Linked DNA regions of Homo sapiens: regions 1, 2, 3, 4, 5 and 7 are each linked to region 6. The links are contacts of gene promoters, found by promoter capture Hi-C in blood cells and fetal thymus (Javierre and others, 2016). All regions are on one chromosome and are shown on one strand. The core of a region is centred on a gene start or on the middle of the fragment in contact, and the rest is flanking DNA. Distances in the headings are between cores, read along the strand shown. Region 1 overlaps PDZD2 (PDZ domain containing 2). Region 2 overlaps SUB1 (SUB1 regulator of transcription). Region 3 has its middle 21 kb from the start of SUB1. Region 4 overlaps PDZD2 (PDZ domain containing 2). Region 5 has its middle 53 kb from the start of ZFR. Region 6 holds the start of GOLPH3 (golgi phosphoprotein 3). Region 7 has its middle 17 kb from the start of ZFR.

Region 1 (4,201 bases), core at 1,117-3,616, 320 kb after region 6:
TCTCTTTCCAAACATCCTGCATCTTTAAATATCTTTGATTTGTGGATCCTATGATCAAAACATTTTGGGAATCAGTGGTGGGGCTGTTGTCCAAGCAGGCTGTTTAGTAATTTGGGGGCAAAGATCTGTCTCCAAATGCCATCACGACTTCTTGTGAAATCATCCACAGTTCCCGCGGGTAGAGAAAGCAGCTTTGCTCCGTCTCAGTCATTCTGCTGCTAGCGAGGGATGGGGGACAGTATGACAGATTTCCCGGGCTGCTGCCATGCCCCCCGCCCCTACCGGGGCTTCAACGGCACAGGCCCCAAGGTTCTGAAACCGCCGTGGCTCCGGAACCCCCTATTACCTGTCCCCTCTGGGCACCCCTTCCCTGCCCGTCACACACAGCCGGGGCGCCTCCTTCCGTCCAGCCATTGACAAACCAGCTCCAAGTCACTTACTCCTCCCGAGGAACACAAACCGTCTCTCAACACGCAAATCCCCCACTTTAAAAACAACACACCCCAGTGATCCGGGAGACGAGAAGGGCAGACGCTTAGGTGGCCGCTCCGCGCCTCCGAGGCTGTGGCTAAATCTCCACATTTGTGGATTCAGCCCCAGTCTGCACCCGACCTGGATCAGATCAGAAAACCTGAGGCTTTCGCCTGAGAAGCCGATTTCCTACCTCCAGTTCTGAAGTCACCTTCGGAGGGTTCCTCTCCGGAGCTCCTGGGAGTCTCCGCCGGCAGCAGCTGGGCGCCGGGTAATCCGCTCGCCAGGCCGGTCTCCGCGCCCCCGGGGCAGCTCATTAGCCTAATCACCTGCAGGCGGCCCGGGGGCCTGGGGCGGCTGCCAGCTGCCCTCCTGGAACGCGGCTCCTGCAGGACTTCCCGAAGGCTGCTCTCCGCCGGCTCCAGGTCTGTGGGAGGACCCCCCCCTCCTCCCTCCGCGCCGCGGTGGAGGAGGTTAGGAAAAGCCTGTAATGCAATCCTAAACTCGGCTCGCCACTCCCCTGCTCACTTGTCAAAACCCCACGGCATTCCAAGATCCCCTCCCCGGTCACTCCCCTCGCCGGGAAAAGGAAACCGCCCTGGGGAGGATTTCAGGGAGTTTGGGGCTTCTCATCCAGACACCTTTGTTTACACCGAGGGCTCAGGAGCTTCCTGGGGCAAACCTGGAGCAGGTTAGAGGAAAAAGCGCCCTACCCTAGACCCTCGTTTGCACCAAAAGTTCTCCCTCCGAGCCATTGCAAGAAGCTCCACCTTCCCACATCAATTCACTTCATGACCACTCCGTTTCATAATCCGCGGCAGCCTGAGTTCTTACAGGGGTGGAGCCCCCAGCTAAAATCACAACCATCGTATGGGGCAGGATGTCAGGGAACTTTCCAGAAATCCCCGGTCAGAGCCTTTCGGCTGGAGTAACCAAAGTTAACACCGCTGAATTACAATCGCCGGTGACTGCACGACTGAAGCATTTCCTTTATACCTTCTCCCGCTCCCCTACCCCTCCCACCTTCTGTGGGGTTCAGTCAACAAGCCCTCCCCCAGGAGGCCTGAGTGGGCCTGGGCCCTGCAGCCATCGCTCCAGCTGCAAACTGATGAGGAAGCCCGACCCACGAGGCCGAATTGTTTACATCACACCCACTGAGGCTTCCTGTCTTAAATTAATGGGAACACAAATAAGACAGGAAAAGAGTGTTTGCTTTTCTTAAAGCAGGGGAGGGGGGCTGGCAGCGGGAGGGGGAGTCACCCCACATTTCATTGCTTTTCAAAACTTCAGCTGTATTCTCTTCCATTTTTCCACTCCTGACACTTGTTGAAAAGTAAAAGCGTCACTGGTGCCAAACCTCAAGCCTTTATGGAACGTCTGCTCAAAACACATTTCACCTGGCTTCAAAAGGCACCCAGGGTGGAGCTCCCAGGGACCTGAGCTAGAGGAATGGAGAGCTCCTGAGGTTGATGGCACCAATCTCAGTGCAAACAAACTCACTCAAGCCCTGGGCCTCCCTCCCGGGACTTGCACAGGCAGGCACACACTCCACTCCTTGGGGTTCAGGTTAAGTCACACCCCAGTCCCACTCCACCCCTCTGGCTCTAAGCTCTGGTTGTGGGCATCCAGCAGCCCCTAAAAGTAAATGAGCTTTGCAACGGACAGATCTGGTGGAATTCGAAGCAATTAATTATAATGGAGGAGGCAAAAGAAAGCTTCAATTCCAGTACCATTACTGCCACCGGAATGGGTAATTAAAGCCCAGGAGGGGCCAACCCATGTCAAGCCTGGGCTGGAAATCTGCCCACTCTCAGAAGCAGCCCCAGAGCACATAGTAAATAATTATCATCATTACCAGTCCTGGAATTACCCCTAGTTGCTTCATTCAGGTGGGCACAACAGCCAACCCAGAAACAGGCAAGGAGTGTCAGGTCATGGTATTCCTCCTTCGGAAGAACCAAAAGGAAACAGAACCCCAGGATAAGATTTATTTCAAGAAGTTTTGGGTACTGCAACCAACAATACCTCATGGAGTTTAGGAGAACACTACATGTGCCCAGTGAGAACAAGCTTTGTAGACCAGTCCTCCAAACATCGCAATTCCTGGGTCAAAGCAAATTAGGCTGATGATTTCAGAAAAAACCAAGGGTATTAGAATTCTCTAACACAAAGTGTCTGGCTTACACATATTATAAGGGTCTCAGTGAATGCTGGCTCCACCCCCTTCCCTTTTCCCACTCTTCTGCCAGGAAGTGGTAGTCTTTCATTAGCATCCTATAAGTTTTATGGGAATTAAGTTCAAATTGAATAATTTTCTAATAATAATTTGAGAAGTGCTCCTTTGCTTCCTTTCTGAGTGTTTTTTCCACAACAGTTTCCCAATGTTTTAGCTTCTTTCTCCACTCCTTCAATCCAGGTACATAATTGATGATGTGTACATCAATGCTGTTTAAAGTAAATGTATGGGCCAGGCGCAGTGGCTCACGCCTGTAATCCCAACACTTTGGGAGGTCGAGGTGGGTGGATCACTTTTGGTCAGGAGTTCGAGACCAGCCTGACCAACATGGTGAAACCCCATCTCTGCTAAAAATACAAAAATTAGCTGAGTGTGGTGGTGGGCACCTGTAATCCCAGCTACTTGGGAGGCTGAGGCAGGAGAATTGCTTAAACCCGGAAGGCAGAGGTTGCAGTGAGCCGAGATCCCATCACTGCACTCCAGCCTGGGCTACAGAGTGAGACTCCAACTCAAAAACATAAAATAAATACATAATAAAGTCCAGGCACGTGGTGGCTCATGCCTGTAATCCTAGCACTTTGGGAGGCCAAGGTAGTTGGATCACTTGAGGTCAGAAGTTTGAGAGCAGCCTGGCCAACATGGTGAAACCCCATCTCTATTAAAAATACAAAAATCAGCCAGGCGTGATGGCACGCGCCTGTGGTCCCAGCTACTCTACTTGGGAGGCTGAGGAAAGAGAATAGCTTGAACCCAGGAGGTAGAGGTTGCAGTGAGCCCGGACTGCGCCACTGCACTCCAGCCTGGGCGACACAGCAATGCTCAGTCTCAAAAATAAATAAAATAAATAAATAATAAAAATAAATGTATGGTTTTAAGTATAATGCAAAGAAATATTCTGCCCCCATCCTCATCTTTGTTGCCTCAGCTCAGTCTGGGGCACGTAAGTGCTGGGAATTGAAAATGGGACCACACGGCAGACACGGTGGCTCACGCCTGTGATTCCAGCACTTTGGGAGGCCGAGGCAGGCGGATCACGAGGTCAGGAGCTCAAGACCAGCCTGCCCAACATGGTGAAACCCCGTCTCTACTGAAAACATAAAAATTAGCCAGGTGTGGTGGTGGGTACTTGTAATCCCAGCTACTCAGGAGGCTGAGGCACGAGAATCACTTCAACCCAGGAGGCGGAGGTTGCAGTGAGCCGAGATCCCACCACTGCACTTCAGCCTGGGCAAGAGAGCAAGACTCTATCTCAGGGGAAAAAAAAAAATGTGACCACATCTGCCTAATACCTTAATTTCAGGAAAGCTTTTGCATCCATATGCCATTCTCATCAGCAGGCCAGAAAGATATGATCTGGTGCGTCTTTTCCCTAACTGAGGTTTCACTGCTGACTGGAAAAGAGATCAATGGCCCAGTAAACAAAGGGGTGCTTAGCATGTGGTCTACGATTTTGTCTTGGGTCTGGTTTAAATAATACTTGAAATTGCTATATGC
Region 2 (4,217 bases), core at 1,197-3,696, 420 kb before region 6:
TCACCTCACATACAGATTAAAGCCTACAATTACCTAAGCAATCTCACCTGCATTCATTTATTCCCCAACATCCCTTCCTCACAAATCCTTCTTGTACAAAGATGCCAGTGTCAAGTCTCCCTAAAACAAGACAGGAAACCCAAGAGAAAAAGCTATACGAGTCCTCTCTAGGTGATTTCATCAAGTCCCTCTAATGAACTTCCTTCACTTTATCTATTCAACCCATTCCCCTTTTCTGTTGCTCATCAGGCCAAAATTAGGCATGTCACATTGCTGCTTCCTGTCCCATAATAATCTATTCATACTTTACTGTCCCAACACTTGACCTGCCTCCTCCAAGTTGCTTTCAAAATGTGCAGTTCTCAATTAAATTTGCATTGGTTTAAATACAGCAAAACTAGACTTTAGAGACTTTAACAATAATCCAGCATCGTACAAAATACTTTTACTAGTTTGTTCTATTTTAATAAATGTCCCTAGTTAAGAAGATTGTAACATACATATTAGGCAATTATCAGATCATAGTACTTTTAACATTCTTCAGATCAAGCCAGATAATAATTCCTCTGAATCTAAAGAAACAGCCAACTTTGGCAAGGCATGGTGGCTCACACCTGTAAACCCAGCACTTTTGGAGGCTGAGGCAGTTGGATCACAAGGTCAGGAGTTCAAGACCAGCCTGGCCAAGATGGTGAAACCCCATCTCTACTAAAAATACAAAAATTAGCCAGGTCTGGTGGCGGATGCCTGTAATCCTAGCTACTCGGGAGGCTGAGGCAGAGAACTGCTTGAACTCAGGAGGCTGAGGTTGCAGTGAGCCGAGATGGCGCCACTGCACTCCAGCCTGGGTGACAGAGCATGACTCCATGTCAAAAAAAAAAAAAAAAAAAATAGCCAACTTTACCTGAAACATGTTATCATCTCTGCTGCTGCTGCTCTGTTTAGAAGATGACAGGGCTCTCGAAGTCTCACCTGTCTTTTGTTTCTTTACAGGTTTTTCTGGAGCAACTTGCTTTTTCCTCTTTAACTAGAAAAGAATATGGTTAAAATTTGCACACATAAAAATAAAACATACCCCAGTGTCAAAAGATCCCATTACTTTTTAAGATTTAAACAATCAAAAGACTACATCCAAAATATCATAAATATATACATAAGCAAGTTTCACTCAACAACAAAACTATGAATCTAACCAATCCTTCTGTCTAGTAATGTTTTCAAACTCTGTTCTCAGGATCCCAAAAGACACTTCAGGCATTATAGTAGTATTAACCACAGGAACGGTTATTTTGTGGTTTGGGATCCCACATACGATTTCTTTGGTAGAAAAAAAAATGGAGGGATCTTGCTACTTCTGAATAAACCTGGAAACCACAGTCTACTAAGGCTAGTCAGTTACTTATTTTACGAAGCAGATATACTAATTAAAAAGAATATAACCAACTTATTCCATTTCCAGGATATGTTTATTTATGTCCTGCCTATTCCAAAAGGAATTTATGCTGGCTTAAGGAATTTATGGGCCGGGCGCGGTAGCTCACACCTGTAATCCCAGCACTTTGGGAGTCCGAGGCGGGAGGATCACTTGAGGTCAGGAGTTCGAGACCAGCCTGGCCACATGGTGAAACCCCATCTCCACTAAAAATACAAAAAAAGTTAGCCAGGCGTGGTGGTGGGCACCTATAATCCCAGCTACTAGGGAGGCTGAGGCAGAGAACTGCTTGAATCCAGGAGGCTGAGGTTGCAGTGAGCCGAGATCGTGCCATTGCACTCCAGCCTGGGCAACAGAGCGATACTCCATCTCAAAAAAAAAAAAAAAAAAAAAAATTAGCCAGGCGTGGTGGCACACGCCTGTAATCCCAGCTACTCGGAAGGCTGAGGCAGGAGAATCGCTTGAACCCGGGACGCGAAGGTTGCAGTGAGCCGAGATCGCGCCATTACACTCCAGCCTGGGCAACAAAAGCAAAACTTCATCTCAAAATAAAAAATTAAAAAAAAAGGAATTTACAATTAGGCAAATCTTTAGAGAGCTATTTTGCACTGGGCACTGACAGCCAGCAACTCAAGAACTTCCTCATTACAAAAAAAAAAAAAATCATTGTAGACAGCTATGTGTTAGACTAGCTTTCAAAAATCACAACGTTGTTTTAAAAACAGCATTATTTTAAAAGCTTATTAGAAAGTCGCATTCTCAAAAAGAGCTAACCCATAAAAACCACTACAATACCCAACCCAAACAGAAGAGGGCAGTCATGTTCCTTCTTGATGGAATAGTATAAATATTTTAATGTTACTAAATTAATTGAATGTTACCAAATTAGATGAAGCTAGGAAAAATATTATATACATGTAAAACATGAAATGAAAAATGTGGTATACAAGGTTAAGTGTTTACAAGAGTAATATTACTATTTGGGACAAACAAAAAGTTAGCTCAATATGCAGAAAGCAATTATTCTATAAATCAGGCTCTAAGTATTCCCTGTGGAATAGTGCATGTCTGGCAAATAAAAGCTCAATACACATGTGTTACATCAACATACTCAAATACTATATAGGGTGCAAATTTTAAAATTAAGAAATTTACTCAAGTATAGTCTTTGAAGCCTTATTTTACCCTTCCATGTGTTGTTATATTCTATATTTATACTTTAAGGTTGCAACTTCTCCAATCTCCCATACGCTCTCCCCTTTTCTTTTAGCTAAAATTGCTAAGCTTCAGGAGGAAAAAAAAAAGATAGGGAGCCTGCTTCTTTTGAATAAACTTTCGGAAATCACAGGTCTACCAGTGCTAGTCATTACTTACTATTTTACAAAGGATATATACTAATTAGGAAAAACACGACCAACTTATTCTATTTCTAGGATATAAATATCTCTTCAGATATGTAAAGTTCTATGCGATAAAAGACAATTCTGCACGGAAGACTTGACCGCAGAGTGAGACGCTCAGTTATGCTCCACTGAGATGCTCAATTTAGCGAAATTCACCAATTACGGTGCAGCTGTCATCTAATGCAGAAAAAGCCTATCTTGTCAATGGGTTTCAAGTTAGCTTTACTGCGTGCTGATTTAATTAAATGGAAGGGACCAGAGCACAAACTTAGTACAAACTTAAAAATGTACCAAGTCTAAAATTCAGAAAACCTTATGTGCAGAATAAACACCAGTAACTAAGAGAACTGTCAAAATTAACATTTTATGGCCACTCATGATGGCTCACACCTGTAATCCCAGCACTTTGGGAGTCTGAGGCAGAAGAATTGCCTGAGGCCAGGAGTTTGAGACCAGCCTTAGCAACACAGCAATACCTGGTCCCTACAAAAACATTTTTTTTTTAATTAACCAGGCATGATGCCTGTAGTCCCAGCTACTCTGGAGGCAGAGGTGGGAGGACTGCTTGAGACCAGGAGGTCGAGGCTGCAGTGAGCCATGATGGTGCCACCACACTCCAGCCTCGGCAAGAGAGTAAGACCCTGTCTTTAAAAAAAAAAATTAACATTTTACAAAAAAAAATCTGGTAAATTTCTAAATAACGGCAAATAGTGACTTTGGCCTACTTAGAATTCTATGACCCTAGGATGCAAGGCAGTGTTTCTGCAACTTTAGGGTTCCTAATGATGCTCAACAGAAGACTTGTTAAGTCTGATTTAGGGCCTATGAGTATGAATGTGCAAAAAGCATCCTAGGCACTTCTAGTCAAGTGGTCCAGAGACCAACCGTACCTCCAGAAATACCCATTCACATTCTTATTTTTTATTTTTTATTTATTTATTTTTTTAAAGAGACAGGTTCTTGCTATGTTAGCCTGGTTGGTCTTGAACTCTTGGCCTCAAGCAATCCTGCCACCTCGGCCTCCCAAAGAAGTAGGATAACAGGCATGAGCCACCGCGCCCAGCTAGATCCTCATTTTAAGATGTTAATACACCTTTTACTATCCTTCAGAATGGGATATGGACAATATTGTTGAGTATCACCAAAATGACTTGGTGCAGCAGTAGTCACCTTTTTGTCAACCTCACTGTCAGAATCACTGCCAGAAGAGCTTGAAGAAACAAGTTCCTTTGATTTAGGCATCCTGAAAGAAAAATACATTACAAAAATAATTAATAAGGTACTCTACTACTTTCAACTTAGCTCTCCCCCAATCAAAGAAAAAAATCAAGGACAAGTTCCACGGTTCATTCTACCATTTTTGTGGTACTGAGTTGTTACAC
Region 3 (3,994 bases), core at 234-2,733, 430 kb before region 6:
TTAAGTTGGTGACATAGTAAGGTGCTGGGAGAGTGGTGCTCCCAGAGAAGGCACAGAGCTCCATCTCCCTTCCCCATACCTTGCCCTGGGCATCTCTCCCATTTGGCTGTTCCTGAGTTTTATCCTTTATAATAAACCTGTAATTGTGAATAAAGTGCTTTCCTGAGTTGTGTGAATGGTTCCAGTCAATTATCAAATGTGAGAAGGGGATTGTGGAAACCCTCTGAATTTACTGGTCACAAGTACCAGTGACAACCATGGACTTACGGCTGGCATCTGAAGTGGGGGCCTTCTTGTGGGACTGAGCCCTTAACTTGTGGGATCTGACACACTAACTCCACGTAGATGGTATCAGAATTAAATTGTAGGACACCCAAATGGAGTAAGAGAAGTGGTGATGGAAAAAACACACACACTTGGCTCAGAAGTAAAAATAGCTCAGCATATGCGTACGTTAACTTTCTACAATTTACTTCCAAACAGTTCAGCAAAAAGAGACAGAAGGTTGCAAAATAATAGGTGAAGGATATGAGTGTTCCTTATACTATTGATTCAACTTTTCTCTGGGTTTGAAATTTTTCAGAATAAAATACGTTGGGGGCCAGGCACAGTGGCTCATGCCTGTAATCCCAGCACTTTGGGAGGCCAAAGCGGGCAGATTGCTTGAAGCCCGAAGTTCAAGACCAGCCTGGCAAACACAGTGAAATCCCGTCTCTACTAAAAATACAAAAATTAGTCGGGTGTGGTGGCACGCACCTGTAATCCCAGCTACTAGGGAGGCTAAGGAATGAGAATCGCTTGAACCTGGGAGGTGGAGGTTGCAGTGAGCCAAGATCACGCCACTGTACTCCAGCCTGGGTGACAGAGCAAGACTCTCAAAAAAAATAAAGATAAAATACGTGGGGGAAAAAAATCAAGTGCAAGGTCACTGAAATAGGAAGCAAACATTCTTCAAGTTAGAGGGGCCATTTCCATCTGCGACCCTGTGGCCTAGGAGCCATTCCCGAGGCTCCTCCAATAGATTAAAGAGGTCTTAAACTTCCTCCCTTCATTTATAGGCTCCCCATCCAGCGCAGGCCCTGTGACTCCAACAAGGAACTGAGATCTCATGCACCTTAAAACAATAAATGAGAATGGCTCATGGCTAGACATGACTGGTACCAGATCCCAAAACCCAAGGTTTGACTAGGCCCTGGTCTCAATTTGGAGAGCTTGGCTGTGGAGAAGAGGGGCGTGAGAACCAAGTGATCGAATTCCTGTTAAAATGAAGTAATTTGTGGCTCACACCTGTAATCCCAGCACTTTGGGAGGCCGAGGCGGGTGGATTACGAGGTCAGGAGTTCAAGACCAGACTGGCCAAGATGGTGAAACCCTATCTCTACTAAAAGTACAAAAAATTAGCCGGGCCTGGTGTGGGCGCCTGTAATCCCTCCTACTCAGGAGGCTGAGGCAGAGAATTGCTTGAACCTGGGAGGTGGAGGATGCAGTGAGCCGAGATCGTGCCACTGCACTCCAGCCTGGTGACAAAGCGAGACTCCGTCTCAAAAAAAAAACAAAAAAAAAAGTAGTAATTCATATTTTTCTTTAAAATTACTAGAAGTACTCATGGTTCAGGTGGCACTTAGTCACCAAAAAAAAAAAAAGTGGGAAGTGGTTGAAACTGTTGCTGACGCCGGGTGTGGTGGCTCAAGCCTTTAATCCCAGCACTTTGGGAGGCCAAGGCGGGCGGATCACGAGGTCAGGAGATCGAGACCATCCTGGCTAACATGGTGAAACCCCGTCTCTACTAAAAATACAAAAAATTAGCTGGGCGCGGTGGCGGGCGCCTGTAGTCCCAGCTACTCGGGAGGCTGAGGCAGGAGAATGGCGTGAACCTGGGAGGCAGAGCTTGCAGTGAGCCGAGATCACGCCACTGACTCCAGCCTGGGAAACAAAGCAAGACTCCGTCTCAGGAAAAAAAAAAAAAAAAAAAAAGAAACCATTGCTGACACCAAAGGTCAACTTAAATTCATACCGAAGAAGTTAGGAACCTTACCACCTTCCTTCAGATGCTGCACACTGTAATTTCAATCACACTCTGCCCTGGATCCCACACCCTTCTACAGCCACCATCCTATTTTTCTTTATCCTTCACAACCAAGCTGCTCAAATGAACTTACACACAGTCTCCACTCCTCACTCAACCAGCCTCTGCCCTCCCCACCCTTGTCACCACCACCAATGGCCTTCATGTTACCAAATCTTCAGAAACATCAAAGTTGTAAAAGTCAAGGAAAAACTAAGGAACTGTCAGGCTGAAGGAAACTGAAGTAAAGAGAGAATCAAATGAGACACGTGATCCTGTGTTACATGCTTTTGCTAAAAGACACTGAAACTCACAAAATCTGAATGGGGTCTCTGAGTGGAGGGGTACATGGGAGTTTTCTGTACCATTCCTGCAACAACTACATACTTGAAAAATAAAGCCTTCAGAATAGGAGCTATTAAAAGACTTGGGCTTGGCAGACACAGTGGTATACACCTGCAGTGTACAGATGCTAGGAAGGCTAAGGCAGGAGGATCACCTGGGCCCACAAGTGCAAGGCCATGGTGCGCTAGGATCACACCTGTAAACAGCCACTGCACTCCAGCCTGGGCAACACAGAAAGACCCTGTCTCTTCAAAAAATAAATACATAACATTTTAAAAGACTTGGGCTTAGCTTACTTAGGAAGGCAAAACTGGAACTTTCACATCACTTTTCAAGATACGTGAGTTACTACATAGACAACTTCAGCTGATTTCTGAACTACATATACAGTCTTCCTGTTACCCATGGAGGTTACATTATCCAACTATTGAAATGAGTTGAAATTCAGGAGCAGTTAAAAAGTGGCATAAATCTTATCTCCTAACTATGCAGTAAGTTATCCAGCAGAAGGATAAACCATTTAAACTATCAAGAACCTAAAAAGTGAAGAGGAGCATTTCACTTAGGCAGTGGGTCACTATTAATCCAGGACTAAAATGTCTATAAAAGCAGGTCTGGGAAGGTGTGGACTCTGTAAGGGGCTTATGTGAATGAAGCAAGTGGGCAAAGAAAAGTCCTGTTCATGTAGCAAGCTTTTTTTGTTGTTTTTTTGTTTTTTTTGAGACAGTCTCACTCTGTTGCCCAGGCTGGAGTACAGTGGCACAATCTCGGCTCACTGCAACCTCTGCCTCCTGGGTGCAAGTAATTCTCCTGCCTCAGCCTCCACTGTAGCTGGAATTGCAGGTGCTCACCAGCATACCCAGCTAATTTTTGTATTTTAGTAGAGATGGGGTTTCACCATGTCGGCCAGGCTGGTCTCGAACTCCTGACCTCAAGTGATCCATCCGCCTTGGCCTCCCAAAGTGCTGGGATTAAAGGTGTGAGCCACCGCACCGGGCTGTAGCAAGATCTTTTACTAAAATGGACACAACTATTAGGTGAACTGTTATATAGTAACTAATTCCATATAATTTTTTTAAATGTTTATTAGTACTTTGCAAATACCCTTCCTATCCCAGTAACTCCCTTTGAGCCATACTACAAAACTATGAAGTCAGTGATTAATTGTGTGAACTCCAAGTACTCTTTTTTTCCTTCTTCTGGCTGAATTATGTTTTACTAAAAGCAAATTTACAGTTAAGTGAATATACCATGGATCTTTCTATTCCTAAACAGAAATTGAAATGGGGCCTCAACATATAAACAAAAACAATAACCAAGGGCAAAATAGGGACTTCATAAATGAAAATGTAAATTTGAAATCTTCAAAGGAGTCCATGACACCAGTCAAGTATATGAAGGAATCATTAGACTACAAAGCACTTAAAGGGAGAAAGAAAAAAAAAGAGGCTGTGTACACCTAAGTGTTTGCATTTTTCCATTTGGATCAGGTAGATGGAAAGGACGGACCCAAGACTAATCCACATTCCAAAGCATTCACACAGAAAGGCATTCTATTAATAAAACTCATTCAACAGACAAATT
Region 4 (3,636 bases), core at 506-3,005, 350 kb after region 6:
CAGGAGATCAAGACCATCCTGGCTAACACGGTGAAACCCCGTCTCTACTAAAAATACAAAAAAAAAAAAAAAAATTAGCTGGGCGTGGTGGTGGGCGCCTGTAGTCCCAGCTACTCGGGAGGCTGAGGCAGGAGAATGGCGTGAACCCGGGAGGCGGAGCTTGCAGTGAGCCGAGATCGCTCCACTGCACTCCAGCCTGGGCGGCAGAGCGAAACTTCGTCTCAAAAAAAAAAAAAAAGCCATTGGATTAAATGTATTAAGGGAGTGGTTTGGAGGGAAAATGTGAACAAGTAGAATGAAACAGTTGGAAAAAATCAGAATGGTACTAGACAAGAAAGTTTTTTGTTTCTTGTTTCTTTGAGATGGAGTCTCGCTCTGTCACCCAGGCTACAGTGCAGTGGCATGATCTTGGTTCACTGCAACCTCTGACTCCTAGGTTCAAGCGACCCTCTTGCCTCAGCCTCCAGAGCAGCTGGGATTACAGGCACCTACCACCACACTCGGCTAATTTTTTGTATTTTTAGTACAGACAGGGTTTCACCATGTTGGCCAGGTTGAACTCCTGACCTCAAGTGATCCACTCACCTTGGCTTCCGAAAGTGCTGGAATTACAGGCATGAGCCACCACACCCAGCCATAGATAGGAAAGTTCTTACAGCTATTGGATACCACTTTACTTTGGTAAAGGGGGGTTAGTAACTGGTAAGAGGTAAGAAGGAGGGCTCTGACATACTAGTTAAGTTCTGTTTCTCAGTTTGGGTGATGGTTAATATAAAAATTCACTAAGCTGGGCTGGGTGTGGTGGTTCATGCCTGTAATCCTGGCACTTTGGGAGGCCGAGGCGGGTGGATCATCTGAGGTCAGGAGTTTGAGACCAGCCATGCCAACATGGTGAAACCCTGTTTTTACTAAAAATACAAAAATTAGCGAGGTGTGGTGCCTGCAATCCCATCTACTCTGCTGAGACAGGAGAATAGCTTGCACCTGGGAGGTAGAGGTTGCAGTGAGCTGAGATCATGCCACTGCACTCCAGCCTTGGCAACAGAGCAAGACTGTCTCAAAAAAAAAAAAAATTCACTAAGCTGAATACTTTTGATATGTGCCTTTACGTATATCGTATTTCAAAGATAAGTTTACTGGAAAAAGCCCTTCTGGAATGATAAAAATAAAGACCTCCAAAAATCCACACCTCTATAAGAGTAACAAAAACACTAGAAAAAATGACCAAAATCAACTTTTTCAGAACTCTGGAAGTTAGCCAAAAGCTTGAAACATCACTAGCAGCCACTGAGGCAGAACAAGTTTGGAAGCCCCCAAAAACTCTATCTTCACAGAATTGTTATTACTTGACCTGTCCAACAGCTCTCTGAAAGGCTCCATTTTCAAGGTTTCTCCTTACTTGACTTGATTCAGAGCTGATGCTGCAAAAGTAGCCTTGTCCCTAGGTTATTTGTTGAAAACAATCCATGGCAATTGTTTAATATGTGCAGCTGCCTGAGAAAATATCTGCAAATCATATATCTGCTAAGGAACTTGTATCTAGGCTATATAAAGAATTCTTACAACTCAATGTAAAAGTGGGTAAAGAATTAAAATAGATATTTCTAGCTGGGCATGGTGGCTCATGCTTATAATCCTAGTGCTTTCTAAGGCTGAGGCATGAAGATGGCTTGAGGCCAGGAGTTTGAGACCAGTATGGGAAACACAGCAAGACCCTGTCTCTACAAAAAAATTTTTTACAAAATTAGCCAGGTGTAGTGGCGTATGCCTGTAGTCCTGGCTATTCAGGAGAATAAGGTGGGAGGATTGCTGGAGCCCAGGAGGTTGAGGCTACAGTGAGCCTCTGCACTGCACTCATGCCACTGCACTCCAGGCTGGGTGGCAGCGGAAGACCCTGTCTTAAAAAATAAAATAAATAGACATCTCTCCAAAGATATACAAAGGTTCAAAAACACATGAAAAGGTGTTCAACATGATTAATCATTAGAGAATACAAATCAAAGTCACAGTGAGATACAGCTTCACACCCACTAGGATGGCTGGTCTCATAAAGACAGGTCACAAGTGTTGGCAGGAATGTGGAGAAATTAGAACCCTTATACACTGCTGGTGGGGATGTAAAATAGTCCTGAGAAACAATTTGGAGATTTCTCAAAAAGTTACACATAGAGTTACTATATCATCATCAATTCCATTCTTACATATATATCCAACAGAACTGAAAACATACTCACACAAAAGCTTGTACACCAATGTTCACAGCATGATTCATAATAGTCAAAAAGTGGAAATGACCCAAATGTCCACAAATGGATGGATGGTTAAACAAATGTGGTTAAACATATGGAATACTATTTGGCAATATAACAAAGTAAAGTTCTGAATCATACTGAAACACAGATGAGCACTGAAGTCATTACACTTTCAGTACAGAAGACCATGTACTGAAATATCTGGAATAGGTAAATCTATAGGAACAGAAAGTAGGTTTCCAGGGGCTTGGAGAAGCGGAGTATGGAGAATCCCTGTAATAGGTATGTGTCTTCTTTTTGGAAGGATAAAAACGTCCTAAAATTAGATATTGGTGATATTCAATGCTGTGAATCTATAAAACCACTCAATTGTACATTTTAAAGGATAAATTTTATAGTAGGTGAACATCTCAGTAAAGCCATTTTAAAATTATTTTTATTTTTTTATTTATTTATTTTTTTTGAGACAGAGTCTTGCTCTATCACCCAGGCTGGAGTGCAGTGGCGTGATCTCAGCTCACTGCAACCTCTGCCTCTCAGTTCAAGCAATTCTCCTGCCTCAGCCTCCTGAGTAGCTGAGATTACAGGCGCATGCCACCATACCCAGCTAATTTTTGTATTTTTAGTAGAGACGGGGTGTTACCATGTTGGCCAGGCTAGTCTCGAACTCCTGATCTCAAGTGATCCACCCACCTCAGCCTCCCAAGGTGTTGGGATTACAGGCATGAGCCACCACACCCAGCCTCAGGAAAGCTATTATATAACAAGAAAGCTTACTTTAAAAATTCCTTCATATCGTTATTAATCACAATTACGCCTACAAGGATAAGTCAGTTTTCCAAGGCACGGATAAAGGCCCCAGAAAACCAGGGACTTTATATGTTTTATAGAAGAGTATTTCCCCAATATGCAGTTCCAGAGCTGAAACAGTAGGTGGTCAGTAAATATCCTTAAATGAATAAATATAGATTAAGAAAGTGTTCAGAACCCAGATTTTCTGATTCCCGGTTCACCCCTCCATAGTGGGGAAGTGGCAAGACAGTGACCTCATGAATAAAGAGCAAGGTTCCCTGGCCAGGATGCCACTTACAGAATTGTTGCTGCCTACAGGAAGGTTACGCTCCTTTCTGGGGAATGGACGTGCTGTCTATAGGGACAGACACACTATTTGGCATATGGGTAGCAATTGACAGAGCATCCCAGCAAAAAAAGACTCAGGTCTTGGAGGCAGGTCACCCCGGCTCGATTCCAGGCTCTGTCTCTTAATAGATGGGTTTATCCAATCTTTCTCAGCCTATATTTCCTCATCTGTGAATGCAGGTAATAATACTCGCCTCTTACCTCATAGGGATGTTGTAAGAAGTAAATGAGAAGCATATACCTA
Region 5 (3,912 bases), core at 679-3,178, 320 kb before region 6:
TTACAGCTTCCTTTTCTGGGGTTTATTGAAGTCACAGGGTGTTATGAAGTGTGGGTTAACCTTATAGGAAAAGTAATATAGGGGTTGAGCAAAGGTTTGGAGATGGACGGGAGTCACCAGATTGCACTGACATTGAAGGAGATGCTGGCTACTATTAAAGAGATCATTCTCAAGGGATGTCAGTGGGAAGCAGAGCCAGCTGAGCCCCTGGGGGCAGATAAGGACCAGTGAAGACCACTGATCTGCAGATAATGACTCAGCTCCCACCCAGTTCCTGGGTTCTTGAACAAAACCCTTTAAGGAAAAGCCCCTTATTCCTGTCCAGGTGGCCTCTTCAGGTCAGGCCCTCTCTCAGAGAAACCCCCAAACCTCGATCCCCACTCCCATCCTCCCCTGGAGATGTTCGCCTTTTAGAATCCAGCTCTACAGGCAAAGCATGGTGGAGTCAACTGTGGATACAGAACAGAATGTAAAGTTTATCAGCCTGACGAGGTGAAAGTGAAATGACAGATGTCGGAAATTGGGAAGTAAAAGATGGACAGTTGTGTTGAAGGGAAAGGCAAGCTTTTTTTTTGCTTTCAATAAAGGGAGAAGAAGATACTCCTTGAAATCACTAGAACAAGAGAGATTCCAGTCCATTACTTAATGTTAGAAACCAGTAGAGGAACTAAAAATAATGATATAGCTTTACTGGGACAGGAGTGTGAGCAAGTTAAATCCTTATCTTTGTGAGCAAGTTAAATCCTTATCTTTCACAAGAGGAAGTCAAGAGATAATGTCTAAAGATGATAAACCAGGAAATAGCAAGCAGTGTAAACATAGTATTTAGACACACAGAGGTAATCACTAAACACTGAAACCAAACTGCTGGATGACAGACTGGGCACAGGCATAGGTGGATACCTCTGTAGAATTTAATTTTTTTTTTTATGTCTCTCCACCTTTTCTATTGGGTTCCATGAATAAAAGATTCTTGTTGTTGTTGTTGTTTGTTTGTTTGAGATGGAGTATCACTCTGTTGCCCTGGCTGGAGTGCATGGTGCAATCTCGGCTCACTGCAACCTCTGTCTCCCAGGTTCAAGACATTCTCATGCCTCAGCCTCCCCAGTAGCTAGGAATACAGGTGCGTGCCACCACACCCAGCTAATTTTTGTATTTTTAGTAGGGATGGGGTTTTACCATGTTGGCCAGGCTGGTTTGAACCCCTGACCTCAAGTGATCCACCTGCTTTGGCTTCCCAAAGTGCTGAGATTACAGGTGTGAGCCGCCACGCCCAGCCTGTTTGTTTTTGAGACGGGGGTCTCATCATGTCACCCAGGTGGGAATACAGTGATGCAATCACAGCTCACTGCAGCCTCAAACTCCTGGGCTCAAGCACTCTTCCCACCGCAACCTCCCAATTAGCTAGGACTACAGGCACACGCCACCATACCCCACTAATTTTTTTTTTTGCTGTAGAGATTGGAGGCAGGCGGCAGTCTCGCTTTGTTGGCTAGGCTGGTCTCAAACTCCTAGCCTCAAGGAATCCTTCTGCCTCCCAGAATGATGGGATTACAGGCATGGGACCACCATGCTCGGCCAAGAAAAAGCTTCTTAAGCTTCTTTTCTTCTCTTTATTCCTTGAAAAACTCATCAATCTAGTCCCTTCTTCCCCCAAAAGCACTAATTTTAAGGGTGTTCACCAAAATTAGGGACGTTCAGTGTATCAAACTGTGTAGGGAAAAACTCTCCTGAAACCATGTTTTTCCTCTACTCTCACACCACAACAATCATCAACACAGAAGATTTCTGTGACCAAATATATGGGGCTTTTTCCCCACACACCAAGCAACGGACACCAGGGAGGGTCTTCTCATTCAGTTCCAACCGTGTCTGCCCAGAGATGGTGTCAGATCCCACAAGCTGAGGACTCAGTCCCTAAGACTGCCTCCTGAACCCCCACTAACACACACCAGTTGCAAGGTCGGCCCTCCAGAACCTCTTACTGACCAGCTTCAAGTTGGGGTTCCCATGACCCCCCTATATGGGTTCAATAAATTTGCTGGAGCGGCTTATAGAACTCAGGGAAACACATTTACTGGTTTATTATTAAGGATATAGTAAAGGATACACGAGAAGAGATGCACAGGGTGAGATATTAGGGAAGCGGCGCAGAGTTTCCATGTCCTCCCTAAGCGCCACCCTCCAGGAACCTCCAGGAGCTCAGCTACCCGGAAGTTCACTGATCCATGTCCTCTTGGGTTTTTACAGAAGCTTCATGACATCAACATTCTTTCCCCCATGGTATAGGGTGGGAGCCCTCTCATGGGAGAGTCTTAAGATCCATCACCTGATCAGGCCGGGTGCAGTGGCTCATGCCTGTAATCCCAGCACTTTGTGAGGCAGAGGTGGGCAGGTCACTTGAGGTCAGGAGTTCGAGACCAGTGTGGCCAACGTGGTGAAACCCCCGTCTCTACTAAAAGTAAAAAAATTAGCCTGGGCATGGTGGTGCATGCCTGTAATCCCAGCTACTTGGGAGACTGAGGCAGGAGAATCACTTGAACCCGAGAAGCAGAGGTTGCAGTGAGCTGAGATCGCGCCACTGCACTCCAGAATGGGTGACAGAGTGAGACGTTGTCTCAAAAATAATAACAATAGTGATGAAGGGGGAAGGGGTTAAATATCTGAAACAGTCTAACAGTGCCTGGTACATGGGGGAAATTCATTAAACATTGATCCAGCACATGAACAAGAGGAACAATGTTCTATTCAAGCTGGAAATCCTTGATACCCTTGTTTCTCTTATTCAATTCAACCTACTCCTATTGATTGTACATTTTCCCTCTCTCTTGAATCAGCCCTTTTCTATCTCCAAGGCTTCTTCCCCATCCCAGTTGCCATTATTTCTCACTTGGACCATGCAGTAGCCCATGGCCAGAATTTCTGTGGGCCTGACCTAAACAGCTTCCTCAACCCCTAGACTAAGGCGGAACAAAACTCAGAAGACAAAAAAAGGACAGCCGGGGACCTATGGAGCAGCATATGAGTTCATTACAGCTAACAAATTTAAAACAACAACAACAAAACCCTGTCTTCCACACTAACCATATTGCATGACTTCATCTAGCATGAAGTTAATCCAGGAAAGTGGCTGTTTCATGTCAAAAACAGGAAGACGGGCTCTGAGGCACTTTTGAGAGAGCTCTAATCTTGGATTTTCAGTGTCAGAAATCAGAGGGAGAATAAAATCTATGAAAGAAAGCCGACGGGAGAAACATAAGATCCAAGATGGAAACTGAGCTGGGACTAACAGATCCTCCAAAGAACCCTACAATTTACAAGGTATTATCAATTCTCCAGAGCAGGAGTCCAGTAGGTTTCATGGGTGTGTGACCTGCACAGTTGCACATTTCTGTACAGAGAAGGGCCCTGCACTTAGTTAACATTTTACAGTCAATATCTTGAAATTCTTAATAATTTTCGAATAAGGGCCCAAATCTTTTTATTTTGCACTGAGCCCTGAAAATTATGTAGCTAGTCCCGGCAAAGAACCTACTGTACGGAACCTGGAAAACAGAAGTTCTAAGTAGTTATTTCGTTTTTCACTTTATGTAAAGTGAATTTCCTTCTTGAAGGAGAGATTTTCTTCCCCTTCTCAAATCACATTGATTTTTTTTTTTTTTTTTTTTGAGACGGAGTCTCGCTCTGTAGCCCAGGCTGGATTGCAGAGGTGCCATCTTGACTCACTGCAACCTCAGCCTCCTGGTCCCCAGTTCAAGCAATTCTCTGGCCTCAGCCTCCCAAGTAGCTGGGGTTACAGAACTGCACCACCATGCCCAGCTAATTTTTGTATTTTTAGTGGAGACGGGGTTTCACCATGTTGGCCAGGCTAGTCTTGAACTCCTGACCTCGTGATCCACCCGCCTTGGCCTC
Region 6 (3,721 bases), core at 617-3,116:
ACGGGGTTTCACCGTGTTAGCCAGGATGGTCTCGATCTCCTGACCTCCTGATCCGTCCGCCTTGGCCTTCCAAAGTGCTAGGATTACAGGCGTGAGCCAACGCGCCCAGCCAATTTTTTTTTTTTTTTTTTGAGACAGGGTCTTGCTCTGTCTCTCAGGCTGGTGTGCAGTGGCACGATCACCCTCATGGCAGCCTCAAATTCTGGGCTCAAGCGGTTCTCCTGCCTCAGCCTCCCGAAGACCTGGGACTACAGATGTGGGCCACTACTCCTGATTAACTTTTTTCACATAATAAATTAATTACATTTATTTTACAAAGAAATATTTCAAGCTACAACATTTGGTAAAATCAGAAAAGATGAAGAAAAAAGGTCCAAAGAGGGTGTGGGCTGGCGCGGTGGCTCACGCCTGTAATCCCAGCACTTTGGGAGGCCAAGGCCGGCGGATCACGAGGTCAGGTGATCGAGACCATCCTGGCTAACACGGTGAAACCCCGTCTCCACTAAAAATACAAAAAATTAGCCAGGCGTGGTGGCGGGCGCCTGTAGTCCAGCTACTCAGGAGGCTGAGGCAGGAGAATGGCGTGAACCCGGGAGGCAGAGCTTGCAGTGAGCCGAGATTGTGCCACTGCACCCCAGCCTGGGCAACAGAGCAAGACTCCGTCTCAAAAAAAAAAAAAAAAAAAAAAAAAAGAGGGTGTGAATGGGAGAAATTGGTTGAGGTGAAATCGACCTTCACCAAGACAGGTGGGAAAAAGGGAAGGTCTACTTGGTGTGCCCCCTGGACCCTCTCTTCCCTTCATTTAGCACTGTCACTTTCCAGGGCATGGGATGGTAGGCAGCAGCAGTTCTGGATAATGGATTTGTGGAAGAGAAGAATCCATCTAAAGCACTCTTTAGCCACAGCCCATGATCACTTTTTTTAAAAAATTTTTATTTTTTGCTTTGCTGTTGTTCCACTCTGTCCATACATTGTTTAATACAGGATGGCACACAATACCATTCCTGGTTAAATGTTTCACTTAACAAGCGCCACCCTCTACTCCTCCAACTCCTGTCTCAGGTTTGACAGCTATTTTTTTAACCTAATTTGCGCACGCCAAGAGGATTTCACCTAGTAACTACACGGAGAGACATCCGATGCGTACAAAGACGTGGCATGAAACGCTGCAGGTTTATTGTCTCTATAAAAAGATCGTTAAGGTCGAGCGTGCTAACGTGTGCGGTACTAACTGTACTCACTACGCCCTGGTCACTTTATAGCACAAGTCCGAGGCAAGGAAAGAAGTTTTACAAACAAAACTGGTCAACTGTTCTATCTTCTTACTCCTGGAAAACAATAAAGGTCCACTTTCAAACCATTTGGACGCACTTGCTCCTTCTAAAGGGTTAGGGAGTCCCGGCAGATAGCGTACCCCTCCCCGCCCAGCAGCAGAGAGCAAAGTCCTTCCTGCCGATCCTGCAGACCCCGGAGTCCAAATGGGACCCCGTCCACACGACCGCGGAGTCGCCTCCGAAGACGGCGGTGTCTGGGGCGTGGAGGGCACGGCTGGAGGCTGAGTGGGGTCCACCTTCGCGTGGCCCAGGCTCTTCCATTCACGGGGGGCCCCGCCAGGTTCAGGCTCCAGCCCTGGGTAGTGAAGGGGAAACGGGGAACGGAAGGAGGGAGGGCACGTCACGGGAGCAGGACTGCAGGACCGCGGGTCAGGGGGCGCAGGAACGCCAAAGAAAAGACAAGCACCGAGGGCCGGGAAGGGTGTAGGCTGCAGTGGCAGCGGATCCCCGGCCGCCGCTTCCGGCGCCTCCCGGCCCAGCTCTCCCGCGCCGACTCTGCCACATCCTCCGGTGACGTCAGCCGGGGCCGCCATATTGGAAAGGCGCCGCCGCCGCCTCCGCCTTGGAGCTCGGGGTGTTTCGGGGACTGCGGCCACAGGCAGGAAGGCGCTCCTCTCCTGCCCCGCCGACGCCCGGCCAGCCCGCTTCGCCCTGACCTGTTTCCTCATGACTGCCCCCGGCCCTGCTGCCGACGGACGTCGCCCCGGCGTCCGGATTTAACACGGAAACCCGGATCGGAGGCCGCGCGGGGAGGAGGAGGGCGACCCGGTCGGTCCTGCGACCCTCTCGGCCCGGCTCGGCGCCTCGGCGGGAGCCATGACCTCGCTGACCCAGCGCAGCTCCGGCCTGGTGCAGCGGCGCACCGAGGCCTCCCGCAACGCCGCCGACAAGGAGCGGGCGGCGGGCGGCGGCGCCGGCAGCAGCGAGGACGACGCGCAGAGCCGCCGCGACGAGCAGGACGACGACGACAAGGGCGACTCCAAGGAAACGCGGCTGACCCTGATGGAGGAAGTGCTCCTGCTGGGCCTCAAGGACCGCGAGGTGCGGGCGCGGCGGGCTGGGCGGGGGGCGGCGGCGCGGGGCCCGGGCGCCAGGTGAGCTCCAGGTAGGTGCCAGGTGAGCGCCCGAGGCTTCCGGCCCGCGCACCTGCCCTCGCTCCGAAGTCCGCGCCTGGTGGCGCCCAGCTGACGCCGAGCGGTGTCGGAGTTGGTTGACCCCCTGGCGCGGCTGGTGCTTTCTGGATCCTCCCCGTAGAGATGGCTTGGATTTTTCCTTACCCCTTTCACAGTCGCTCCTTTCATTTCGACACCCTGGCAGTTTGTATTTCTTCGTCGCCTTTTTTCCGCGTTTTTAACCCGTGTAGACCCCAGGGTGCAAATCCAACCCGGAGACTGCCCGGGAAACTAACAGCTGGAGCCACCAGCGCCACGAACTCTTTGGGTTTTTGCAGGCTTTAGGACCTGGGAGGGGTGCCCGGATCTGCTTGCTGGGGATGTTTTTTTTTTCTTCTTCTTCAGTTAAAGCTTACTGTTGGGAATTACGAAAAACGTAGGCGAAGTGGTAATAGAGGGAAAAGCTCTTTTACTGAGTAAAGTTAAGTTAAGTTTCTCATGAAACCTCCTGGTAAATGACTTTCTAGGTGAACTTACATTAGGTGAGAGATTATTTTTAGTATCGCTTTTATATTTTATCAGTTGATGAATCTCAAAGTCTTGCCGTCTTAAGAAAGGGCTTTTTCATCGAGTGCTTGAAATGTAGGTTTGTGAGTTGATCAGAGGCCTCAAAGCTTCAGGTGGGTTGAAGTTGCAATAGATAATTCTTTGTATTCTGACTTTGAAAGCGTTTATTTTCACTTCAGTGTCCAAAATTTTCACACACAGAAAAGTTGAAAAAGTGATAGATACATATGCATATATACTCTTTCTAGATTCTATGACGTTTTGCTGTATTTGTTATATTTGCCTACAAAAATGATTATTTATTTATGTGGAGACGGAGTTTCGCTCTTGTTGCCCAGGCTGGAGTGCAATGCCGCGATCTCGGCTTACCGAAATCTCCGCCTCCCGGGTTCAAGCGATTCTCCTGCCTCAGCCTCCTGAGGCAGGCATGCGCCACCATGCCCGGCTAATTTTGTGTTTTTGTTTTGTTTTGTTTTTGAGACGGAGCCTCAGTTTGTCGCCCAGGCTGGAGTGCAGTGGCGCGATCTCCACTCACTGCAAACTCCGCCTCCCGGGTTCAAGCGATTTTCCTGCCTCAGCCTCCCGAGTAGCCGGGACTACAGACGTGCGCCGCCATGCCCAGCTAATTTTCATACCTTTAGTAGAGACGGGGTTTCACCATGTTGGCCAGGATGGTCTCGATCTCTTGACCTAGTGATCCGCCTGCCT
Region 7 (3,648 bases), core at 968-3,467, 290 kb before region 6:
TTAAAACCATCAGATCTGGTGAGAACTCCCTCACTATCACAAGAACAGCATGGGGGAAACCACCCCATGATCCAGTCACCTCCCACCAGGTCGCTCCCTCGATACATGGGGATTACAATTTGAGATGAGATTTGGTTGAGGACACAGAGCCAAACCATGTCAATGAACACTTTGGTAGTTTCCAATTTTGGACTAATAGGAATAGTTGCTCCCATGAATATTTGTGTACTTATCCTTTGGTAAACATATATACACATTTCTGAGATAGATCCGAGAATAGAATTGCTGGATTGTATAAGTATGCACTGCTGAGCTTTAATAGACTCTGCCAAACAGTTTTCGAAAGTAGTTGAAACAATTGGCACTCCCACCCTAGTAATGACAGTTCCACTTGTTCCACACTTTTGTATTTAGATATTTAAATGTTTTTTTCTAACACCGTGTCATAAAGAAGCTTGTCTACATGACTTTGAGAAGTTGCTATGTGAAACTACAAAGGTGGGAGTATGGCCACCCCAGCACAGAATTCCTGTTCCACATCATGTCTGAATGTACTCAAGGTTGGGTGCCACTTAGTGGAATTGGTGGCACCAAGGAGAAAGGCCTTGGTTGAGTCACAGCCTAGCCCAGCAGTCAGCTCTGGGGCTCTGCCTCATACAGAGGATGATTCACTCCATGCCCCTCCTGGTAGAAGAAGAGGTTCTTCAAGTGTTCCTTCCCTTCAGCCCAGTCAGGGCAGCTGGAGTAAAGCAGGGCTGACTGTGCACAAGTGGAGGAGTCTGGAGTAGGCAGAGGAAAGGGAAATGAGGGGGCTGTCTGACAGCTAGAAAGCAGATTCAAGGTAGGTGGGAGTGGGGGAAGCTAGGGTACAATGACTATATTTCTAAGACGTATGCAAATCAGATGTACTCAGAACTAGGTTTTTATTGAAAAATTATTCATCATATGGGGAAAATGTTTCCCTAACCATCACAAAAGGGCATATAATGAAAAAATAAAGTCTTTTTTTACCTCTTAGATTCACAGTTCTCCAGGCTGTTTCCCCTAAGACAGGCACAGTCCCTCCAGAAGCAGTCTGTACTTACACAAGCGTAAACACAGGTATCTTCAATAAGTTATTCAACTTCTTTAGGTGTCTTAGTCTATTTTGTACTGTTATAACAGAATATCACAAACTGGCTAATTTATTATAATGAGCAGAAATTTATTGGCTCACAGTTCTGGATGCTGGGAAGTCCAAGATCAAGGTGCTGGCATCTGGTGAGGGGCTTCTTGCTGCGCCATCACATGGTGGAAGGCAGCGTACAAAGAGAAACTGTGTCCTCACAAGTGGCATTAATCTATTTATGAGGGTGGACCCCTCAGGGGGGCTTAAACACCTCCAATTAGGCCCTACATCCCTATACTGTTGCCTTGGGGATTAAGCTTCCAACACATGAGTTTTAGAGGGGACAAAAACTGGGCTTCAGCGTCCTCATCCTTAGAATTATGAGGCTGGGCAGAACGTTTCCCAAACTTACTTGCTGGTAAGACTCATTTGGGAGGACTTGTTTAACATATGATTTCTCCAACCAAAGGCCCTGGGATTCTGATTTAGTGAAAACGCAGTGGGATTTAGGAATTTGTATAATTGGAAGAATCTCTAGGTGACTCTTATTATTAGGAATTTGGAGAATCACTGGATTTAGAGAGTCTCTAACAGTTAAAAATTTTCAAAAGCCTATAATATTCTGCCCTTTAGAAATCCTAATATGATCTTATGTTGTAGAAATCAGAACTAATGAAGAAAGAAGAAAGGTGCCTTTATGGGAGCATAGTAAAATGACTGAAAGCCACCATGTGGGCCCTTTTCCAGTAACAGTGGGGAATGTTGGCACCTCTCCTTGGTCTTGTTGCTTTTGCATGCATGGAAGCTTGTAATTGTGATTTAGTTCGCTCTGATGACATGGACTTAAGGAAAGGGGCATCTTTTCTGGGCAATTCAGTGAAGATTAGAGAGCCTGGATCAGTCGGGAGAGGAATGTATGCGACTTCTTCTGTAAAAGCTGGGAAGTAAATGGAGATGGCTACAGACAACAGAAGGCAGTTAAAGCCTTCCCCAGATGGGTATGACTGGGTTTTAATCCAGATCTCAGCTTGAATGGATAACATGACCCAAACACTTGGAACTTAGGACTAGAAATGTAGCCCCCTACAAAAGGACTTCTTACAGCTGAAGAATCTCTCAAGTAGTGCCAACAATCTCTCAAGAAGATGCGTTCGTTTCCCTACATGGACTGTACCTTTTGTAGGGCCTTCCCTGGCTTGAGTGTGTTTGTGAGCACAGGCACACACGTGTGCATGTGCACATGTGCGTGTCTGTGTATGCAGGCCGTATTAGGCCATTCCTATGTTGCTATAAAGAAATACCTAAGCCTAGGTCATTTATAAAGAAAAGAGGTTTAACTGGCTGATGGTTCTGCGGGCTGTACAACAAGTGTGGTGCTGGCACTTGCTTCTGGTAAGGACATCAGGAAGCTTTCAATCATGGTGGAAGGCAAAGGGGGAGCAGGCATGTCACACAGCAAAAGCAGGAGCAAAAGAGAGAGCAGGGAGGTACCACACAGTTTTAAACAACCAGATTTTGTGATAACTCACCATTGTGAGGACAGTACCAAGCCACTCATGAAGGATCTGTCCCCATGACCCAAACACCTCCCACCAGGCTCCACCTCTGATATGGTTTGGCTCGATGTCCCCACCCAAACCTCATCTTGAATTGTAATCCCAATGTGTCAGGGGGAACCTGGTGGGAGGTGATTAAATCATGGGGCAGTTTCCCCTATGATGTTCTCCTGATAGTGAGGGAGTTATCATGAGATCTGATGGTTTAAAAGTAGTTTCCCCTGCTCTTTCTCTCTGTCCTGCTACATGTAAGACATGCCTTGCTTCCCCTTCCCCTTCCGCCATGATTTTAAGTTTTCTGAGGCCTCTCTAGCCATGTGGAACTGTGAGTCAATTAACCCTCTTTCCTTTATAAATTACCCACTCTCAGACAGTTCTTTATAGCAGAACGAAAATGAACTAATACAGAAAATTGGTACTGGGATAGCACGGTACTGCTATCTTTATAATAACCTGAAAATGTGGAAGCGACTTTGGAACTGGGTAAGAGGCAGAGGTTGGAACAGTTTGGAGGGCTTGGAAGAAGAGAAGAAGATGCGGGAAAGTTTGTAATGTCCTAGAGACTTATTGAATGGTTTTGACCAAAATACTGATAGTGATATGGAAGTCCAGGCTGAGGTGGTCTCAGATGGAGACGAGAAACTTATTGGGAACTGGAGCAAAGGTCACTCTTCCTCTGCTTTAGCAAAGGGACTGGTGGCATTTTGCCCCTTCCCTAGAGGTCTGTGGAACATTGTTTTGTTTTGTTTTGTTTTGAGACAGAGTCTTGCTCTGTTGCCCAGGCTGGAGCACAGTGGTGCAATCTCAGCTAACTGCACACTCAGCTTCCCAGGTTCAAGCTATTCTCCTGCCTCAGCCTCCCGCGTAGCTGGGATTACAGGCGTGCACCACCACACTTGGCTAATTTTTTAAATTTTTAGTAAAGACAGTGTTTTGCCATGTATCAAACTCCTGGCCTCAAGTGATCCACCTGCCTCAGCCTCC

What was found. Contacts are between HindIII fragments. The CHiCAGO score rates a contact against its expected background, and 5 or more counts as called.
Region 1: a contact is called between a fragment that was not itself captured here and the fragment with the promoter of GOLPH3 in region 6, in 1 of 17 cell types (non-activated CD4 T cells). The highest score is 5.2, in non-activated CD4 T cells.
Region 2: a contact is called between a fragment that was not itself captured here and the fragment with the promoter of GOLPH3 in region 6, in 16 of 17 cell types (naive CD4 T cells, fetal thymus, total CD8 T cells and 13 more). The highest score is 33.6, in naive CD4 T cells.
Region 3: a fragment that was not itself captured here is called in contact with the fragment with the promoter of GOLPH3 in region 6 in 14 of 17 cell types (total CD8 T cells, total CD4 T cells, naive CD4 T cells and 11 more); the score reaches 21.1 in total CD8 T cells.
Region 4: a fragment that was not itself captured here is called in contact with the fragment with the promoter of GOLPH3 in region 6 in 1 of 17 cell types (naive CD4 T cells); the score reaches 5.6 in naive CD4 T cells.
Region 5: a contact is called between a fragment that was not itself captured here and the fragment with the promoter of GOLPH3 in region 6, in 4 of 17 cell types (activated CD4 T cells, total CD4 T cells, non-activated CD4 T cells and 1 more). The highest score is 6.6, in activated CD4 T cells.
Region 7: a fragment that was not itself captured here is called in contact with the fragment with the promoter of GOLPH3 in region 6 in 2 of 17 cell types (M0 macrophages and total CD8 T cells); the score reaches 6.8 in M0 macrophages.

The regions. Positions count from the first base shown.
Region 1 is chr5:31,851,632-31,855,832 of GRCh38, reverse strand. The region is part of intron 2 of PDZD2 (PDZ domain containing 2); the gene reads right to left. LOC124900953 (a long non-coding RNA gene) reads right to left here and starts at 977. Exons shown (of 2, transcript XR_007058717.1): 1 at 665-977. RefSeq lists enhancers at 1,157-1,829, 1,830-2,503. The HindIII fragment of the contact is 355 bases long and covers 2,189-2,543 here.
Region 2 is chr5:32,588,373-32,592,589 of GRCh38, reverse strand. It overlaps SUB1 (SUB1 regulator of transcription), which reads right to left. Exons shown (of 5, transcript NM_006713.4): 2 at 4,006-4,078; 3 at 905-1,027. The coding sequence starts at 4,077. Among named protein-coding and RNA genes, the nearest start is that of SUB1, 4.9 kb to the right of the region's middle. The HindIII fragment of the contact is 545 bases long and covers 2,174-2,718 here.
Region 3 is chr5:32,604,124-32,608,117 of GRCh38, reverse strand. No RefSeq gene overlaps it. Among named protein-coding and RNA genes, the nearest start is that of SUB1, 21 kb to the right of the region's middle. The HindIII fragment of the contact is 3,243 bases long and covers 1-3,104 here.
Region 4 is chr5:31,826,771-31,830,406 of GRCh38, reverse strand. All of the region lies in intron 2 of PDZD2 (PDZ domain containing 2), which reads right to left. Among named protein-coding and RNA genes, the nearest start is that of MIR4279, 110 kb to the left of the region's middle. The HindIII fragment of the contact is 976 bases long and covers 1,268-2,243 here.
Region 5 is chr5:32,495,528-32,499,439 of GRCh38, reverse strand. No RefSeq gene overlaps it. Among named protein-coding and RNA genes, the nearest start is that of ZFR, 53 kb to the right of the region's middle. The HindIII fragment of the contact is 655 bases long and covers 1,601-2,255 here.
Region 6 is chr5:32,172,464-32,176,184 of GRCh38, reverse strand. It overlaps GOLPH3 (golgi phosphoprotein 3), which reads left to right and starts at 1,866. Exons shown (of 4, transcript NM_022130.4): 1 at 1,866-2,375. The coding sequence starts at 2,151. RefSeq lists a silencer at 1,973-2,582. The HindIII fragment of the contact is 5,568 bases long and covers 1-2,859 here.
Region 7 is chr5:32,459,890-32,463,537 of GRCh38, reverse strand. No RefSeq gene overlaps it. Among named protein-coding and RNA genes, the nearest start is that of ZFR, 17 kb to the right of the region's middle. The HindIII fragment of the contact is 604 bases long and covers 1,916-2,519 here.